Regions from separate parts of the Homo sapiens genome. Here regions 1, 3 and 4 are each linked to region 2. The links are contacts of gene promoters, found by promoter capture Hi-C in human tissues and cell types (Jung and others, 2019). All regions are on one chromosome and are shown on one strand. Each heading gives the region's core, a stretch centred on a gene start or on the middle of the fragment in contact. The rest is flanking DNA. Distances are from core to core; before and after follow the strand shown.

Evidence for each region. Contacts are between HindIII fragments. The study calls those that stand out against the background at their distance.
Region 1: a fragment that was not itself captured here is called in contact with the fragment with the promoter of CCDC63 in region 2 in 1 of the 25 tissues and cell types used here (spleen).
Region 3: a fragment that was not itself captured here is called in contact with the fragment with the promoter of CCDC63 in region 2 in 1 of the 25 tissues and cell types used here (spleen).
Region 4: a fragment that was not itself captured here is called in contact with the fragment with the promoter of CCDC63 in region 2 in 3 of the 25 tissues and cell types used here (dorsolateral prefrontal cortex, lymphoblastoid cells and spleen).

Annotation. Positions count from the first base shown.
Region 1 is chr12:110,523,279-110,526,536 of GRCh38, forward strand. All of the region lies in intron 10 of RAD9B (RAD9 checkpoint clamp component B), which reads left to right. Among named protein-coding and RNA genes, the nearest start is that of RAD9B, 23 kb to the left of the region's middle. The HindIII fragment of the contact is 3,993 bases long and covers 1-3,258 here.
Region 2 is chr12:110,845,495-110,849,279 of GRCh38, forward strand. It overlaps CCDC63 (coiled-coil domain containing 63), which reads left to right and starts at 1,493. Exons shown (of 12, transcript NM_152591.3): 1 at 1,493-1,611. The HindIII fragment of the contact is 19,678 bases long and covers 1-3,785 here.
Region 3 is chr12:110,479,230-110,482,681 of GRCh38, forward strand. All of the region lies in intron 2 of FAM216A (family with sequence similarity 216 member A), which reads left to right. The region is part of intron 1 of LOC124903016 (a long non-coding RNA gene); the gene reads right to left. Among named protein-coding and RNA genes, the nearest start is that of FAM216A, 12 kb to the left of the region's middle. The HindIII fragment of the contact is 7,273 bases long and covers 1-3,452 here.
Region 4 is chr12:110,505,213-110,508,686 of GRCh38, forward strand. RAD9B (RAD9 checkpoint clamp component B) reads left to right here. Exons shown (of 11, transcript NM_001286535.2): 3 at 405-560; 4 at 1,367-1,481. Among named protein-coding and RNA genes, the nearest start is that of RAD9B, 4.6 kb to the left of the region's middle. The HindIII fragment of the contact is 8,113 bases long and covers 1-3,474 here.

The DNA of each region.
Region 1 (3,258 bases), core at 454-2,953, 320 kb before region 2:
TAAATATTAGCCAGATGTGGTGGCTGTAGACCTAGCTGCTGAGGAGGTTGAAGTGGGAGGATCTCTTGAGCCCAGTAGTTCAAGGCTTCAGTGAGCTATGATCGCACAACTGCACTCCAGCCTGGGCAACAGAGTGAGACACTGTTTCTTAAAAAAATAAAAAATTCACCATATTACGCTGTATATGACTTTTAGGGCAGAATTTGATTAGTAAACTGGACTTAGTTTGATACCATAGGTGTTTATTGAGTACTTGTTATATTCCCAACACTTAGGGCAATTTTCTCTTCCTGTATGTTACTAAGTTGGCCATAAAATGAAAACTGAAATCTGTGTTCTCATTGTACAAAAGCATTGTCCCCTCCTATTTTTCTAGTCACACATATTGTACTTACTTTTTCACAGGCAACAACAGGAATCATCTTCCTGCTGCTTCAGGTCCCTGAAATTCACTAAGATTGCCAGTTTCTTTGCTAGAGAAAATGACATTTAGAACTTTAATCTCCATGAGCACCATTACAGCACTCTTTACTCCAAATTTCCTATTGTGTCACCAAATTCTTGAAAGAAGGCTCTATTTTTAAAGGGAATTATTTGCCTTAATGTGGCAAACTCCTGCAAAGCTGAAATTACATTATGGGTAAATGATGTAGACCCTTATCATGTTCTGCCTGAAATTCCATGGGCTTCCTGCCATCCTCTGTGCCTCTGTTCTCCTTCACCCTGCTTCTCTTCCACAGTGTACTCATAGATTTTTGTCCAAACCTGAGGTCTACAGTGAGGCCCAGGGGTTCAGAGCCCTGGCTCTAGAGTTCAAATGCCAAGGTTCAAACCTCTCTCTTACCACGTATTAACTGCGTAACTTGGACAAGTTATTTATTTTGCCTTCAGTTTCCTTAGTAAAATGGGGGTAATAATAATTATGCCCACTAAATGGAATTGTAAAGATTGAGCTAAAGATGCAACAGGCACATGGTCAGTGCTTGATAAAATTTAGTTATTGGCTGGGCACAGTGTCTCATGCCTGTAATCCCAGCACTTTGGGAGGCAGAGGCGGGCAGATCACGAGGTCAGGAGTTCAAGACCAGCCTGGCCAAGATTGGTGAAACCCTGTCTCTACTAAAAATACAAAAATAAGCTGGGCATGGTGGCGGGCGCCTGTAATCCCAGCTACTCAGGAGGCTGAGGCAGGAGAATTGCTTGAATCCGGGAGGCGGAGATTGCAGTGAGCTGAGATCGTGCCATTGCACTCTAGCCTGGGCGACAGAGCAAGACTCCGTCTCAAAAAGAAAAAAATTATTGTTGTTACTTATCACTCTCTTGCTTTTAAAACTCTTAGATTGGCCGGCGTGGTGGCTCATGCCTGTAATCCCAGCATTTTGGGAGGCCGAGGTGGGCAGATCACAAGGTCAAGAGATCGAGACCATCCTGGCCAACATGGTGAAACCCCGTCTCTACTGCGAATACAAAAATTAGCCAGATATGGTTGGCCAGGCTGGTCTCAAACTTCTGGCCTCAAGTGATCTGCCTGCCTTGGCCTCCCAAAATGCTGGGATTACAGGCATGAGTCACTGTGCCTGGCCTCCACATTTAATATTCAGTATAACAGTACAATGATCATTTCATTGAACAAAAATCAGAAAATACAAATAAGAGATAATCACTTCAAATATTTTGATTATTACTCTGCCTTTAAGACTTTCTTCTTTTTATTTATTTGGTTTTTTTTAGACGGAGTTTCATTTTCGCCCAGGCTAGATTGCAGTGGTGCAATCTGGTTCACTGCAACCTCCACCTCCCGGGTTCAAGTGATTCTCCTGCCTCAGCCTCCTGAGTAGCTGGGAATACAGGTGCCTACCACCACGCCCAGCTAATTTTTTTGTATTTTTTTTAGTAGAGACGGGGTTTTACCATGTTGGCCAGGATGGTCTCGATCTCCCGACCTCAGGTGATCCACTCGCCTTGGCCTCCCAAAGTGCTGGGGTTACAGGTGTGAGCCACTGTGTCTGGCCAGTTTTTGTATTTTTAGTAGAGACGGGGTTTCACCATGTTGCCCAGGCTGGTCTCAAACTCCTGACCTCAAGTGATCCGCCCTCCTTGGCTTCCCAAAGTGCTGGGATTACAGGTATGAGCCACTGCACCCAGCCCGCTTTGTCCTTTACTTTGACATTTTAGTAGAATGTCCTAACTTTGGGTTTTTTCTGTGTTTCCTCATGATTCAATTTAAACTATGTATTTTTGGTAAGAATTCAACAGAGTAATAATGTTGGGTTCTCTTTGTACATCGTATCTGGAGGCACAGGTTGGTTTTTCTCCATATTGGTGGTGTTAATTTCCATCATATGGTCAAGGTGGTGTCTGCCGGCTCTCTACTATATAGTTACTGTTTTTCTTTTAGCAACTGGTAAGTATTTTGTGGAGAGATACTTTGATACTATGTCTCACTCTGTTGCCTAGGCTGGAGTGCAGTGGCATGATCTTGGCTCACTGCAACCTCTGCCACTCGGGTTCAAGTGATTCTCCTACCTCAGCCTCTCGAGTAGCTGAGATTACAGGCGCCTGTCACCACACCTGGCTAATTTTTGTAGTTTTTAGTAGAGACAGGGTTTCACCATCTTGGCCAGGCTGGTCTTGAACTCCTGACCTCGTGATCCACCCGCCTTGGCCTCCCAAAGTGCTGGGATTACAGGCGTGAGCCACTGCACCTGGCCACGCCCAGCTAATTTTTGTATTTTTTTGGTAGAGCCAGGGTTTCACTGTGTTGGCCAGGCTGGTCTCGGACACCTGACCTCAGGTGATCCACCTGCCTTGGCCTCCCAAAGTCTGGGATTACAGGCATGAGCCACCCCGCCTGGCCTGCTGTGGATTTTTTATTAAGTTTAAACTAGAAGTTATACACAGCTCTCAGGGGCATCAAAATAGGGACAATATGTATATTAGTAAAAAAAAAAAGATTTTATAATTCTCTTCCTACCCAACTCATATTAGACTTGAAGTTAATTTCTAGTTGCATGGGTGTTCTCAAGCTTCCTCCATTAGATTACTAGACATGGAGAAGGGCCCCATTATCCAGCCATATGAGACTTACAGGCTGAAGGTGGGGACAAGGGAGGGTAGCAAATAGCATTTACTCTAAGCCAGTAGCAAATTCAGGGCAGCTCTCAAAGATTAAAGAAAACCTCAGCTTTCAAGTCTCATATAGCACCACAAACATTATCAAGAGCTATTTGCACGTGATGATATACACTGAACAGACAC
Region 2 (3,785 bases), core at 243-2,742:
ATCCAAAACACTTCATATGAATCATTTGGAGGCAAGGCCTGACATGTAGCTGTTCATAATCTATCCTTATCTTACTTGACATGAATATTGATGTTTCCTTGCAGAAACAGTAATTCGTTTGATCTGGACTGTGTGGCCCGAACCCTGTATGTAATATACTGTCCCACTGACTTCCCTCATGGTTACAACGTGGCTGCCAGCAACATTAGGGGCAACATACTCCCTTGCGTACCATATTATCTTTCTGAAACCAAAAACATGGTAAGTTCTTTTTTTTTTTTTTGAAACGGAGTCTCACTCTGTCACCCAGGCTGGAGTGAGTGTGATCTTGGCTCACGGCAACCTTTGCCTCCTGGGTTCAAGCAATTCTCCTGCCCTAGCCTCCCGAGTAGCAGAGACTACAGGCACCCACCGGGTGTGTGCCACCATGCCGGGCTAAATTTGTTATATTTTTAGTAGAAATACAAAAAAAAAAAAAAAAAAAAAAGAAATACACAGGGTTTCACCATGTTGGCCAGGCTGGTCTTGAGCTCCTGACCTTAAATGATCTACCTGCCTCAGCCTCCCAAAGTGCTAGGATTATAGGCATGAGCCAGCGCACCTGGCCTCCAAAATATGGTAAGTTCTAAAACACACATCCTGTCCCAAGAATTTACGGATGAAGTGGAGACCTTAGCAGGGCTGAGCTACTACAATCCACTCAGGGGGCTAGGAGTTAAAGTGGAAATCACATGGAATCAAAATTACTGTAGAAAACAGGTACCCCCAATAATTTTCCATTAATTCTGTGATTGTTTCTAGAGCTTAGCCCCAGAGAAAGTAGTTGACTTGTGTTTCAGGGCCGATTGTATGAAAAATGTGTATCTTTAAACCACTAAACTCCGTTAGGGCAGTGAAAAGCTCACTTGCCTGGATCACACTTGGGTTCCCGTGTTATGCTCACAGTGGGTGGGGGTCAGGTGGATGTTCTGAAGAAAATTCTCCTGCACTGATGAAGTTATTTTTCTCATGAAATATCTCTTTCCCCCCCCGCCCCAACATTTTTTTTTAATTTATTTTTACTTTATTTTATTTTTCAGAGTAGAAAAAACTGGGCTCCTTTGAGTTAGCTGCGTGTGAAGTCTGTACCTAGCAGGGCTGCTGTGAGCATGAGTGTAGGTGTAGGCTAAGAAGACGGTGAATGGGGTGTGAGTGGGGCGAGGTGGACCAGCGATTGCATGGCGTTGGCCGAGGGAGGGGCTAAGACTGTTGATTGACTCAAGAAGTCACTTAGCGTCATGAGGGTCCGGGTAGTCTGGTAAGGGGTCGCTGGAGAGTGTGTCGCCCCTCTCCCCCAACCAAAAGCTTCCCTCCAACCAGCTGCTCTTGTCCTCTCCTCCCGAGGGCCCTGTGCCCTCCCAGCGGACTTGCAGGGGAGAACGTCCATGTTTGTGCGAGTCACAAAGGCGCCCGTTCCAGGGGTCCCAGAACGCCCGGGCGTGGGGCTGGGGGTGTGGCGCAGCGAGGCCGCGCAGCAAGCAGTCCTCCCGGCACCGTCGGAAGCGCAGTTGCAGCAGCCGTCGGACAAGCGGCCGGAGCAGCCACGGACAAGCAGTCCGGGCCCCGCCACTGGTAAGTTTCGCCGCCCGCCCGGCCGCGCCTGCTGCGCCACAGCTCCCCCTGCCAGGGAAAAGGAAAGAGCGGTCGCGGTCCCCAGTCCATTCATATCTCGCTGCCCTAAGCGTTGAAAGTATCAGGGTCTCCCGCAATCATGCATAAATAAATTGTAGTGTGTAAAATAACTCCAGAGCCGCGCGAGGTGGCTCATGCCTGTAATTCTAGCACTTTGGGAGGCTGAGGCAAGAGGATCGCTTGAGCCCAGGGGTTCGAGACCAGCTCGGGCAAATTCGTCTTTACAAAATATTTAAAAACTTAGCCGGGCGTGGTGGTGCCACCTGTAGTCCCAGCTTCTTGGGAGGCTGAAGGGGGAGGATCGCTTAAGCCCGGGAAGGTTGAGGCTGCAGTGAGCCGAGATTGAACCACTGCACGCTAGCCTGGGTGACAGAGAGAGAGAGAGACGCTCTCAAAAAAGGAAAAAAAAAAAGTTCAACAAATTTTTATTTTCCTCCCATAATAATCCTTAAAAAACAAAAAACAAAACAAACAAACAAAAAACAAGAAAAACAACAACAACAACAAAAAACTGTGTATGTGTTTCTGTGCTCCTGTTTGGCTAGTGCCCTAAGCACATGTTTAATTCCAGGTTGTGCAGCCCTGGCTCAATATGATCCACATAGCTGCCTGTCCCAAGGTCCCTAGGGAATCCTTCGGGGGCAGGCTTGTCTTTTAAAGGCAGGTTGTTAAAATTCAGAAGCAGATGAGGTGCAGGCCTAATTAGATATTAGATAAATGAAGATGATCTCTGCCTGGAGGAAACTTCATTCATTCAAACTGTATTTGCCAAGAGCTGCCCATGCGCCCAGGACTATGGATGCTGTGGTGAATAGACTGAGGCCCAAGGGGCAGGAGGCCCTTGCCTGACGTCCCCTGACCTGGGCTGCTGGGCTTCTCTGCACTTTTCCTCGCACACGCTGTTCCCCAGAAGTGGGCAGCTTTTAGATTCCTAACAGGAACTGCAAATTCAAATTCCTACTGGCTCTAGGCAGTTACAGAAAATGTGAGAATTGTGGGGAGGGGAGCTTAGCCAATAGGGAGGAGTGGGGCCTGTGGCCAGGAGAGTGAGTGCATGACCCACATTTATGTTTTGAAACACTGTGGAACAGAACTGGAGGTAGGTTGAATTGGCCCCATGGACTATGAGTTTCAGACCCTTGAATGAGAGGGTGGTAAGCCAGGGGTCAGGACATCCAGGAGATGCTCTGCAGGCCAAGCTATGAGGATGGGGGTGAGGGGGTGGATCTGTTCCCCAGGGAATGTAGGAGCCCATCCCAGAGGGCACTGATCGAAAGGGAAAGGCCTGGGTTAACATCTGGAACCTGAAGAGAAGCCAGCACCCTAGGGGAGAGTGACTATGTATGCGCATATGGATCAGCAAAAAGGCAGGAGGTGATGGAGCTTTTGGTTCCTGGAGAATGGTGCATAACCCAGCCAATGATCTCATGGGCCAGACAGACTGGTACTTGAAAATCCCACTTCACAAACAGGCTACGTTCGCCCAGCGTCTGTCATGAGCTAGGCACTATGCTAACCACTTTACAGACATTATTTTGCGCTGAGATATGGGTGTGGGTATCCCCATTCTACAGATGAGGAAACTGAAGCTCAGAGAGGTCAAATCACACTGTCAGTGAAGGTCAGATATACCCAGTTCATGTTATTAAGATGGTGCATTACAAATCCACTTAGGACCCAAAGGGCCCTGGAACATAGAACAGCTCCTGGACAATATGAAATTGGAGCTGCCCCAAATTCCAGGGCTGAAAGAGGTCCCAGAGAGAGCATCCTGTGCCCAAACCTTGTTAGTCAGGTAAATCCTCCTACAGCTTCTACTCCTACCTGGAGGACCCTTCCAGAAATGATCAAGATACAGAACCATTGTCTTATACCACTTCCCTGCCTGTGGGAATTTCCCAACATCAGACAATTCAGTTGGCCCCCAAACCCTCAAAAACATCAGGGAAAATCCAGAGGTTCCTACATTACCAGCCACTATTTTCCTATCACCCATTAACCTGAGAACCATTTTCAAGGTATGGACCATGTCAGTTAGGAATGCTTTAGGCTTCAATGAACAAAATATTTGGTGACTGCCTTAAACAACAGTGACTCTTGCTATTTCACCTAAC
Region 3 (3,452 bases), core at 309-2,808, 370 kb before region 2:
GGTGTGCTTATTTATAATATACTTTCATTGCTTCTAGACTTTCTCCGAGGACAGTGCTGGGAAAGAAATGTGTGTGCATTTACCTGTGAGCACATACATACCCATACATATCTATTTCAATATTTCTACTAACTCCAAATTCCAATCCAACAAACAGGGTTTATTCTGTGCTTTCCTCTTTCCATATTAATAGGTAACTCGTCTCCAAAAGTGTGAGACCTGCTTATTAACTACAATATATTATTTGCTTCGTCCTAAGATGTATAAAAAAGTAGTTTCTAAAGTGCTAACACATGCTTCTGAAAAAAAAAAAAAAGAAGCCTAGTAGGCTGGGCGCAGTGGCTCACGCCTGTAATTCCAGCACTTTGGAAGGCTGAGGTAGGTGGATCACGAGGTCAGGAGATTGAGACCATTCTGGCCAACATGATGAAACCCCGTCTCTACTAAAAATACAAAAAATTAGCTGGGCATGGTGGCGCGTGTCTGTAATCCCAGCTACTTGGGAGACTGAGGCAGGAGAATCACTTGAACCAGGGAGTTGGAGGTTGCAGTGAGCAGAGATCGCGCCACTGCACTCCAGCCTGGCGACAGAGCAAGGCTCCATCTAAAAAAAAACCCAAAAAAAACAAAAAACAAAACAACAAAAAAAAGCCTAGTAGTTAATTAGAGATCAGTATTTGCTTAGAGTTGTTTTTGTTTGAGGGCATATAGTCCAAGCAGTATATTCAAAAGTTCTTGGGTTGGTTAACTATTTATTTGTGGTAAAATATACATAATATAAAATTTACTATTTTAATCTTTTTTTTTTTCTTTGAGATGGAGTTTCGCTCTTGTTGCCCAGGCTGGAGTGCAATGGCTCGATCTCGGCTCACTGCAACCGCTGCCTCCTGAGTTCAAGCGATTCTCCTGCCTCAGCCTCCTGAGTAGCTGGGATTACAGGTGCACCCCCACCACGCCTAGCTAATTTTTTTTTTTTTTTTTTTTTTTTTTTTGAGATGGAGTCTCACTCTGTTGCCCAGTCCGGAGTGCAGTGGCACGATCTTGGCTCACTGCAAGCTCCACCTCCCGGGTTCACGCCATTCTCCTGCCTCAGCCTCCTGAGTAGCTGGGACTACAGGCGCCTGCCACCATGCTTGGCTAATTTTTTTATATTTTTCTAGAGACGGGGTTTCACCATGTTAGCCAGGATGGTCTCGATCTCCTGACCTCGTGATCCGCCCGCCTCGGCCTCCCAAAGTGCTGGGATTAAAGGTGTGAGCCACCACGCCCAGCCTAAGGGTTTCACCATGTAGGCCAGGCTGGTCTCAAACTCCTGGACTCAAGTGATCTGCCCGCCTCAGCCTCCCAAAGTGCTGGGATGTATAGGCATGAGCCAATGCACCTGGCCCATTTTAATCATTTTTAAGTGTACATTTCAGTGGCATTAAGTATATTCACACTGTTGTGCAACCACTACCACCATCCATTTCCAGAAAGTTTTCATCTTCCCAAACTAAAACTCCGTACCTATAAAACACTAACTCTCAGGTGGGTGCAGTGGCTCGTGTGTGTAATCCCAGCACTTTGGGAGGCTAGGGCTGGAGGATCGCTGGAGCCCAGGAGTTTGAGACCAGCCTGGGCAACATAAAATTAACTTTAGTTTTTTTTGTCTCTAAAAGAAAATTTAAAAACAAAATAAAAAACCACTAATTCCCTATATACCTCCTTTCCCCTGACCTCTTGCAACCTCCATTCTTTCACTCCGTATATATTTGATTTTCCTAGGTATCTCATAAAAGTTAAATCATACAATATTTGTCCTTTGTGACTGGCTTATTTCACTTAGCATGTCTTCAGGGTTCATCCATATTGTACCATGTGTCTGAATTCTCTTATTTTTTTAAAGCTAAATAATATTCCATTGTTTGTATATACCACATTTTGTTTATATATTCACCTGTTGATGGATACTTGGGTTTCTTCCACTTTTTGGCTATTATGAAGTAATGCTGCTATGAGCATGGATAAATAATCTGTTTGAGTCCCTGCTTTCAGTTCTTTTGGAATTGCTGGATCAGAAGTGGAATTATTAGATTATATGGCAATTCTATGTTTAAATGTTCGAGGCACTGCCATACTATTTTTCTTTTTCTTTTGAGTCAGTCTCACTCTGTCACCCAGGCTGGAGTGCAGTTGCAGTAACTCAGCTCACTGCAACCTCTGCCTGCCAGGTTCAAGTGATTCTTCTGCCTCAGCCTCCCAAGTAGCTGGGATTACAGGGGTGTGACACCATGCCTGGCTAAGTATTTTGTGTGTGTGGTTTTTTTTTTTTTTTAGTAGAGACGGGTTTCACCATGTTGCCCAGGCTTGGTCTCGACTCCCAACCTCAGGTGATCTGCCTGCCTCAGCCTCCCAAGGTACTGGGGTTATACAGGCATGAGCCACCATGCCCAGCCTATTTATTTTTAAGTGCTTCATTTTCTGTAAAGAAATGTTATCAAGCTATTGAGAAATTAAGTGTTGGTCCAAAATATAATATGCATCTCAGAAATATTGTTTATTAAGGACACAATTCATATTCTTATATAAATAGCCTCTGTTTACAACTTGAAAAAGGATTTCCAAAACAAAAAACTTTTAAAAATCTTAAATTGGCATTCATATTATTACAGATTATAAGTTATGTTTCAAGGGTCATAATACAATTTCCAAATGATTTTCCATTTCTTGGTCAACTAGTTAGTCCTTACCTGTAGTATCCAACTTGCCAAAATCTTGAAGAAATAACTAAATTTAAAGTTTAATACAAAACTGAAATAGCCTGTTATTAATAATATTGAAACAAAAATGTGCTTATTGAATTCAACTAACTATATACTTTTTTTTTTTTTGAGACAGAGTCTCACTCTGTCACCCAGGCTGGAGTGCAGTGTTGCGATCTCGGCTCACTGCAACCTCCACCTCCTGGGTTCAAGAGATTCTCCTGCCTCAGCCTCCTGAGTAGCTGGGACTACAGGTGTACGCCACCACACCTGGCTAACTTTTATATATTTTTAGTAGAGACAGGGTTTTGCCATGTTGGCCAGGCTGGTCTCCTGACCTCAAGTGATCTGCCCGCCTCAGCCTCCCAAAGTGCTGGGATTACAGGCATGGGCCACCACACCCGGACGCAAACTTTTAACTTAAAATGTGTCTTTCCAGCTTTATTTGTAATAGACAAAAAGTGGAAACTACCCAAATGTCTATCAACAGGTACATAATCAAATAACAGTGTAAACATATATACAATAGAAGATAACCCAACAGGCCGGGCACGGTGGCTCACGCCTGTAATCCCAGCACTTTGGGAGGCTGAGGCGGTCAGATCACAAGCTCAGGAGATCGAGACCATCCTGGCTAACATGGTGAAACCCCGTCTCTACTAAAAATACAAAAAATTAGCCGGGCGCAGTGGCGGGCGCCTGTAGTCCCAG
Region 4 (3,474 bases), core at 751-3,250, 340 kb before region 2:
CAGACTTGTCCTGAATGCCATTTAAACTATCAAGTATAGAATACAGGTTATGTCCTGTATATATTATAGGTGTACATATATGTATATATATGCAAATTCAATACAGACTATATAGGGCAGTCCATAATTAACATCCCATGTTCTTATTTGAACACATTTAACTGTGATGTTAAACATAATGACGTTTTCTGAATCAAGCTATTATGTAAAGAAAGTTTATTTTCTCCTAAATTTTTTTAAAATAAAAAAATAGAGGTGGGGTCTTGCTCTGTTGGCCAGGCTGGTCTCAGACTCCTGGCTTCCATCCATCCTCCTGCCTTGGCTTCCCAAAGTGCTTGGATTACAGGTTCATGGGAGCCACCATGCGCAACCTCTCCTAAATAGTTTTTATCTTATTTTTCTAGCTTGCTCTAAGATGTGTGAATTCTTCTCGGTCAGCATATGGATGTGTCCTGTTCTCTCCTGTGTTTTTTCAGCATTATCAATGGTCAGCTTTAGTGAAAATGAGTGAAAATGAACTTGACACAACACTGCATTTAAAATGCAAATTGGGAATGAAGGTAAATATAAGTGGCCCTGGTTTTCTCTTATTCTGTAGAAATATTCATTATATAGGACATAACCTGTATTCTATACTTAATAGTTTAAATGGCATTCAGGACAAATCTGTTCATTATTATTATTATTTTTGAGACAGAGTCTCGCTTTCTTACCCAGGCTGGAGTGCAGTGGTGCAATCTTGGCTCACTGCAACCTCTGCCTCCCAGTTTCAAGTGATTTTTGTGCCTCAGCCTCCCAAGTAGCTGGGATTATAGGCGTGTGCCACCATGCCTGGCTAATTTTTGTGTTTTTAATAGAGATGAGGGTTTCGCCATGTTGGCCAGGCTGGTCTTGAACTCCTGACCTCAAGTGATCTGCCCACCTCGGCCTCCCAAAGTGCTGGGATTACAGGCGTGAGCCAGTGCACCTGGCCAAGTCTGTTCATTTTTTTTTTGAGACGGAGTCTCGCTTTGTCGCCCAGGCTGGAGTGCGGTGGCACAATCTCGGCTCACTGCAAGCTCTGCCTCCCGGGTTCACGCCATTCTCCTGCCTCAGCCTCCCGAGTAGCTGGGACTACAGGCGCCCGCCACTACGCCTGGCTAATTTTTTCTATTTTTAGTAGAGACGGGGTTTCACTGTGTTAGCCAGGATGGTCTCGATCTCCTGACCTCGTGATCCGCCCGCCTCGGCCTCCCAAAGTGCTGGGATTACAGGCGTGAGCCACCGCGCCTGGCCAAGTCTGTTCATTTATGAATGCATATACTTTTGTTTCTAAAATGAATCAACCATGTTAAGTATGTGCTTAATATGTATATTTCTGTTACAGTCAATTTTGCCCATCTTTAGATGTCTGAATTCCCTTGAAAGAAATATAGAGAAGTGCAGAATATTCACCAGATCTGATAAATGCAAAGTAGTTATTCAATTCTTCTACAGACATGGTAGGTATAATTAAAAGTGGTTTAAAATACTATGTTTTTTTCTCAATAGTTTTCATGTTTAGAACATTGATATTTCATGTCAAGATTTCTCGTTACATTATTGCTTAGAGTGTGTGTAGTTAAGTGGTAGGGCAGTTTGAAGTATTATCCTTTTTTTTTTTTTTGAGATGGAGTCTTGCTCTGTCGCCAAGGCTGGAGTGCAATGCCGCCATCTCAGCTCACTGCGACCTCCACCTCGTGGGTTCAAGCAGTTCTCCCGCCTCAGCCTCCCAAGTAGCTGGGATTACAGGCACCTGCCATCATGCCCAGCTAATTTTTGTATTTTTAGTAGAGACGGGGTTTCACCGTGTTGGCCAGGCTGATCTCGAACTCCTGACCTCAGGTGATCTGCCCACCTGCCTCGGCCTCCCAAAGTGCTGGGATGAGCCACTGCACCTGGCCTGAGCCAGGCATGAGCCACTGCACCTGGCCTGAAGTATTATCTTACCTGTCACTGTAGAAGTATTGTAAGATGATCGGTATTATTTCTTTTTTTGACTTGTCAGTGGCACAAGCTTTGCCTGCATACAGCCTAATTTTTTTCAAATATCCGTATGAATTCAAGCAATTGGTTGTTCTAAAATTTACTAGCTGCTTGATTATATATATGTATATTATATATATAATATGTATTATATATAATATATGTATTATATATAATATATAATATATGTATTAAATATAATATATAATATATATGTATTAAATATAATATATAACACGTATTAAGTATAATATATATGTATTAAATATAATACATAATATATGTATTAAATATAATACATAATATATGTATTAAATATAATACATAATATATGTATTAAATATATATGTATTATATATGTATAATATATACATAATACATATTATGTATACATATATACATAATATTATATACATAATGTATAACATATATACATATATATATTCATTTTGAGATGGAGTTTCGCTCTTGTTGCCCAGGCTGGAGTGCAATGGCATGATCTTGGCTCACTGCAACCTCTACCTCCTGGGTTCAAGCAATTCTCCTGCCTCAGCCTGCTGAGTAGCTAGGATTACAGGCATGCTTCACCATGCCCGGCTAATTTTGTATTTTTAGTAGAGATGGGGTTTTACCATGTTGGTCAGGCAGGTCTGAAACTCCTGACCTCAGATGATCTGCCGGCCTTGACCTCCCAAAGTGCTGGGATTGCAGGTGTGAACTACCGCGCCTGGCTGTATTTCTTAATTTAATCTTACATTTATTATAATATATTTTTATTTCAGCATATATTTATAGTCTTTAAATTGTTTCCTATAAAATACTAATAATTTAACATTATTTTTTCCTTCTTTGAACTTCAGTTCATTTAATAGCAGAATGATTCAAAGAGCATGATTAAAAGCATAGCAAGCCTTGACATCACAAAGATGTGCGTGTAAATTCTTCTCCACTTATTAGTTTTGGGACAGTGCATAAGCTCTCTGAATCTTCATTCCTTACTGTGAAGTGGAGATGATCATGCCTACCCACAAGTTACGGGGTGATTGTGAGGATGAAGTGAGATCACATATGTAAAGTACATACCGCAGTACCTGCCCCAGGGGGAGTACTTGTTAGTGATTGCTGTTACTATAATTATCCTCTTTCCTTATCTCCAACTAGATTTTAGACAGAAAGTGAATACTTGGTATTCAGTATCTCTCAAGTAGCTTACTTGAGTCATGTCCAGTAAGTATTTGTGATTGGTTAATTATTTAATGGTTTTTATAGGGTAGTTATATGATACTATGCCTTAGGTTACAAGTAACAAATAAAAACAGACGGTCCAACTCAAACTAGCTTAAAAAATAAAGTATTGGCTCATGTAAACAAAAAATTCAAAATTAAGTCACAGGCATGGTTGTTTTTGTTTTTGTTCTTAATTTTTGTAGAGTCAGGGTCTCGTCATGTTGCCCAGGCTGGTCTCAAACT